Linked DNA regions of Homo sapiens: region 2 is linked to region 1. The links are contacts of gene promoters, found by promoter capture Hi-C in human tissues and cell types (Jung and others, 2019). All regions are on one chromosome and are shown on one strand. Each heading gives the region's core, a stretch centred on a gene start or on the middle of the fragment in contact. The rest is flanking DNA. Distances are from core to core; before and after follow the strand shown. Region 1 holds the start of MYCL (MYCL proto-oncogene, bHLH transcription factor). Region 2 has its middle 26 kb from the start of HEYL.

The links. The method cuts DNA at HindIII sites, captures the fragments that hold promoters and counts their contacts. A contact is called where the count stands out against the background at its distance.
Region 2: a contact is called between a fragment that was not itself captured here and the fragment with the promoter of MYCL in region 1, in 1 of the 25 tissues and cell types used here (lymphoblastoid cells).

What each region holds. Positions count from the first base shown.
Region 1 is chr1:39,900,480-39,903,179 of GRCh38, forward strand. MYCL (MYCL proto-oncogene, bHLH transcription factor) reads right to left here and starts at 1,438. Exons shown (of 2, transcript NM_001033081.3): 1 at 460-1,438. The coding sequence starts at 955. RefSeq lists silencers at 692-811, 1,222-1,541, 1,802-2,011. The HindIII fragment of the contact is 12,166 bases long and covers 1-2,700 here.
Region 2 is chr1:39,612,288-39,614,987 of GRCh38, forward strand. No RefSeq gene overlaps it. Among named protein-coding and RNA genes, the nearest start is that of HEYL, 26 kb to the right of the region's middle. RefSeq lists an enhancer at 1,202-1,371. The HindIII fragment of the contact is 4,795 bases long and covers 1-2,700 here.

The DNA of each region.
Region 1 (2,700 bases), core at 188-2,687:
ACTGGAGACCTAGGTTTTTAAAAGGACGAAGGTTTTGGCTTTGCACAAAAGGCTCTCGGCTTCTTCTCCCCCTAGGGGAGTGTGAGTTTCCTAGGGAAAGAGGCAGCAGCAAAAAAACTTCAGGTTTGGAGTGTCTCTTAAGGTACCCCCTTCAATCCCTTACAGTCCAACCCCAGTATTGTCCTCTCTAAGCGCCAACCCTCACCTCAAATCCCTTGTCCCCTGGGGCTCCAATAATCATCAAAGGGAGGCTGGCTCCCACGCCACTTTTCCAAACTGTTTACCAACACACCCACGTGCCAGACAGACACGGTTGGGGACTACACGGGCAGCTTCAGCCAAAGAGAGGCGGAGATGGCCCAAGAGCTTGAGAAGAGCCAATGCCTGACCTCAGGCAGGGGCAGAGCTTTGGCCACCCATGGGGTGGCCCCCTCTTGGATGGCTCGGGGAGGTCCTTACCCGAGTCGCTTGGGCTCTCGGACCCGGAGCAGGCCTGGGTCTTGGGTTCGCCCAGCGGACAGGGGGCGGCGGGCGCCGGGTTGCCGGCTTCGAGGCTGGGAGTGCAGTCCGGGGCGGCGGACGCCTTGGGCGGGTTCCCCCGGGGCGCGCCAGGAGCGAGCCGGTCGCTCACAGCTCTCTCCAGCCGTTCCCGGGCCGAGAAGCCGCTCCACATGCAGTCACGGCGTATGATGGAGGCGTAGTTCCTGCCCCAGCCTTTCGAGTGGCCCCGGGATTCCGCTTCGTCTCCGGTGCACCCTCCGGGCCACGGCTCCGGGGGACCAATCCCGGGGGCCGGGTCCCCTGCGCCGGGACCCAAGCCCCAGGGCGGCGACGTGGGGGGCGATGGCACCAGCTCGAATTTCTTCCAGATGTCCTCGCTGGGCGCCGTGGAGCGGTAGAAATCCTCCCCGCAGTCATAGTCGTAGAAATAGTGCTGGTACGAGTCGTAGTCCATGTCCGCTCCCTGCGGGAGGGAAGGGGGGACGTGCTGACCGGGTGCCGGCCGGGCGAAGGAGGTGTCCCCGGGTCCCTCGGCACAGTCGGCTGCCGGGCTCTCGTTCCTCCCCAACCCCACCAGCTTGCAGCCTGCGCCCAGTCCTCGCGTCCCGGGAAGCCGGGCCCCGGGTCAGAGTGGTAGGGGAAGCCAATCGCAGCGCGCGGACCCGACTGTGGGCAGCGAGTTCAAAGCAAACTTTGCCAGCGCCGCCCGGAGCGCAGCTCCCAGGGCCCGGCGGGGCCGGGCGGGGGCGCGCCGTGCCCAGAAGGCAGCCTGCAGCCAGCCCGCACCGCGGGACCCGCGCCCGTGCCCTGGCCACCCGCAGCCTCACCTCGCTCCAGCCGCCCGCCACCTGGAGCGGACCGGCTCCCCGCCGGCTCGGGGCAGCCCGGCAGCCAGCACACACGCACATGCGCGCCGCCGAGAGCGCGGCCCGCACTCACAAGCGCGCCCCCCCCGCGCGCGCGCCCTCCCTCGCTCGCGCACGGCGGCCCGGACGCTCTCGGGATCGGCGCGGGAGCGCGAGCTGCAGGCGCATTGTTTCCTGACTGCCTTATATCTCGTCGCGCGCCCGGGACCCAGGGACTGGGGGGCGGGCCCTATGGGACAAACCCCGCCCTCTCCCTGCCTACTACGGGCAGTCGACAGGTGGGGCCGGCCCCACCTCCTGGCAGCGCTCGCCCGCTCCGTTCAATCCCCGGTAGCCCCCCAAATAAATTGCACGCTGGGGAGCGCAAACAGGAGGAGGGCTGATGCGGCCCGGCGGCCGCTTGGCGGTGCCAGCCGGCTGAGCTAAACCGTGCTCCTTGCCCACTCCGAGCTGGGGAATTAGGGCTACTCCCCGCCCCACCCTGCGCGCCTACTTTCCCCGGCGCACCCCGCTGGGTTCAGGTGCGCCCGAGCCGCCGCGAGGGGTAGGGGGAGGGAAACGCGCCACCTGGCGGCCCTCAGCCCTGAACTTGGGCTGGTCCCGGCGTCCGTCTGGTCACCCGTCGGCCCGTTTCTTGAGCTCAGTGGCCCAAGCCTGGATGGCATCGAAGCGAAGATTCCGGGATTTAGAGCCCGAAACGTAACCTTCCTGAGCTTCAGTTTCATCTGTAAAATGAAGGGATGGTAATGCTTACCTCACAGGGTTGTTGTGAGGCTTCAGGGAAATAAGAGCATCTAGGGAAGGGGTCTGGTCTAGGTGGAGAGGCAGACGGCGCTGGCTTAGCCCCCGCTTTGGGGAGGCGGTGCAGAAATGAGGAATTTTTCCCAGGGCAAAGCCAGCTGAGACCCGCCATGCTCCCTCTCATCTCACACAAAACACTGTAGGAGCTGTACAGTAGAGAATGAGGATTTGGCATCTGGAAAATACTGCAGGACCAAGTTGTTTCAAGTTTTGCCCTGCATTGCTGGCCAAGATGATAGATAACCCCTTTGTATAATCTTCTTTTTAAATTTTAAATATATTTTGTTAAGAGACAGGGTCTCACTCAGCGTCAAGGCTGGAGTGCAGTGGCTCGATCATGACTCGCTGCAGCCTCGAACTCCTGGGCTCAAATGATCCTCCCTCCTTAGCCTCCGAAAGTGCAGGGATTACAGGCACGGGTCACCGTGCTGGGTCCCCCTTTGTGTCATCTTCTACACAGATGACCTTTGGTGGAAGAGAAAAAATTAAACTATACGGCCAGTCTGAGATTTAGGCCAGAGGAGAGTAACTT
Region 2 (2,700 bases), core at 122-2,621, 290 kb before region 1:
TTTTGTTGTTGTTGTTGTTGTTGTTGTTGTTGTTTGAGACAGAGTCTCGCACTGTCACCCAGGCTGGAGTGCAGTGGTGCCATCTGGGCTCACTGCAAGCTCCGCCTCCCGGGTTCACGCCATTCTCCTGCCTCAGCCTCCCCAGTAGCTGGGACTACAGGCGCCCACCACCACGCCCGACTAATTTTTTGTATTTTTAGTAGAGACAGTGTTTCACCGTGTTAGCCAGGATGGTCGCGATCTCCTGACCTCGTGATCCGCCCACCTCAGCCTCCCAAAGTGCTGGGATTACAGGCGTGAGCCACCGTGCCCGGCCTTTTTTTTCTTTGTGGAACACATCTGTAACCTTAGAAGATGAAAAATTAATTAACCTCTGTTACCGGTGATGGAACTTTCTTCCTTAGAGTGTCCTTGATGAGGATACTTATGTAACATAACCTCAGGAAGATTTAGAACTAAGACTAGCATGCTAAACCAAAAATTTAAATCTTAGCATTGGCCGGGCATGGTGGTTCACGCCTGTAATCGCAGCACTTTGGGAGGCCGAGGCAGGCGGAACTCTTGTGGTCAGGAGTTCGAGACCAGCCTGACGAACATGGTGAAGCCACGTCTCTACTAAAAATACAAAAATTACCCAGGTGTGGTGCTGCGTGCCTGTAATCCCAGTTACTGAGGAGGCTGAGGCAGAAGAATCGCTTGAACCCGGGAGGCAGAGGTTGCAGTGAGATGAGATTGCATTACTGCACTCCAGACTGGGCTACAGAGTGAGACCCCGTTCTCATAAAAAACAAAGACAAAAAACCTTAGCATTAATATTTCTGTTCAAAGAAATAATCTAGATACATTTAGGGTTTTTGTTTTGTTTTCTGTTTTTGTTTTTGAGACAGGGTCTCACTCTGTTTCCCAGGCTGGAATGCAGTAGCTGGATCTCAGCTCACTGAAACCTCTGCCTCCCCGGCTCAAGTGATCCTCCCACCTCAGCCTCCTGAGTAGATAGGATCACAGGCGTGCGCAACCATGTCTGGCTAATTTTTAAATTTTTTGTGGAGATGAGGTCTCACTATATTGCCCAGGCTGTTCTCAAACTCCTGGGCTCAGGCAATCAGCCTCAGCCTCCCAAAGTCCTGGGATTACAAGTGTGAGTCACAGTGCCCAGCCCTAGTTTTTTAGATAAACAGATTTTTGAGAGAACTTAAGATTCATCCTATTTATAACTTGGATTTACTTGATGTATAAGAATGATTTAAATCTTCAGGAAGGTTTTGTTTATACAGATAACTGAGCGTCCTGTGTGGGAGCCGCGGGAGCTGCGTGAGGGGAGAAGAAAAGGCACACACACAATACCTTTAAGGGTAAACAAGCTTTATCCCACGTAAATGGCAATGCAGATATAATAAGCAAATGATATAATAAGGAAATTAATATAATAAGCAAATTGATATAAGTAAATGACATAATAAGCAAATTGCAATGGGAAGGGGAGAAGGGAAAAGAGATATACACATATTTACACTCACCAGACTATGGAGGATTCACCACCAGACTGGGAAGCAACAGCCTGGGCTCCAGAGTCGGCCACTCATCCATGCACAGATGAGGAGAGGTCTCATGAAGCTTCAGCGCAGCTGGGACCCTAGCTCTTTTTGTAACGAGTTGTTTGGCATGAGGTCCGGTCACGAGGGCCCTTCATTATCGGTCTCAAGGAACACAAAAAGGTCAACTTGTTTTTGCGATTGTGTGTTGTTTTTCAATAACTAATGTATAGGAATAGATTGAAATAGAGATTCCTCCGAAACAGTGCTGGATGAACGCCTCAAGGGGCTCACACAACCTGTTCAGGGACTTGGTGACCATTGTTTGTGTCCATGTTCAGTTGAGTTCAAATTTAATATTTAACTTTTCTTCCACACTGAGATACTGAAAAAGAAAATCAAACCTATTCATTTACGTTTGAAGATATAAAGTTGTAAAAAGCCCCTTAGAAGCATTTGCTAAAATCTAGATTTTCAAACAAGGTTTGTAAGCTGAATTTTATTTATACTTTTTAAATATTTTATTATTATTAAATTTTAATTTTTTGTAGACATGGGGTCTTGATATGTTGCCCATACTGGTCTCCAGCTCCTAGCCTCAAGTAATCTTCCTGTCTCGGCTGCCTAAATTGCTGGGATTACAGGTGTGAGCCACCACGCCTGGCCAATAGGTTGAATCTTAAGGTTAAGAAAGAATTAGTAGTGTTTTGAACTAGTAACTTTAATAAATAGAAACTAATTGTTTACTCCAGAAATAAACTTCCAAATAGTCTTTTCTGTGACTGAAAACCATCCTCAGGACTCAACCCAAATATGCATCAAAAGGTGAATGGATAAACAAATTGGGATCTATCTGTACAATGGAATACTACACAGCAACGAAAAGAAAGAGCAACTCATTCACAGAACTTGATGAATTTCTAAAGCATTACACTAAGCGAAGAAAGCCAGACTCAAAAGTTTCCCTGCTGTCTAATTCCATTTATACATAGACAAAACCATGGTGGGCCAGGCGTGGTGGCTCACGCCTGTGATCCCAGCACTTTAGGAGGCCGAGGTGGGCGGATCACAAGGTCAGGAGTTCGAGACCAGCCTGGCTAACATGGTAAAACCCTGTCTCTACTAAAAATACTAAAATTAGCTGGGCATGGTGGTGTGTGCCTGTAAT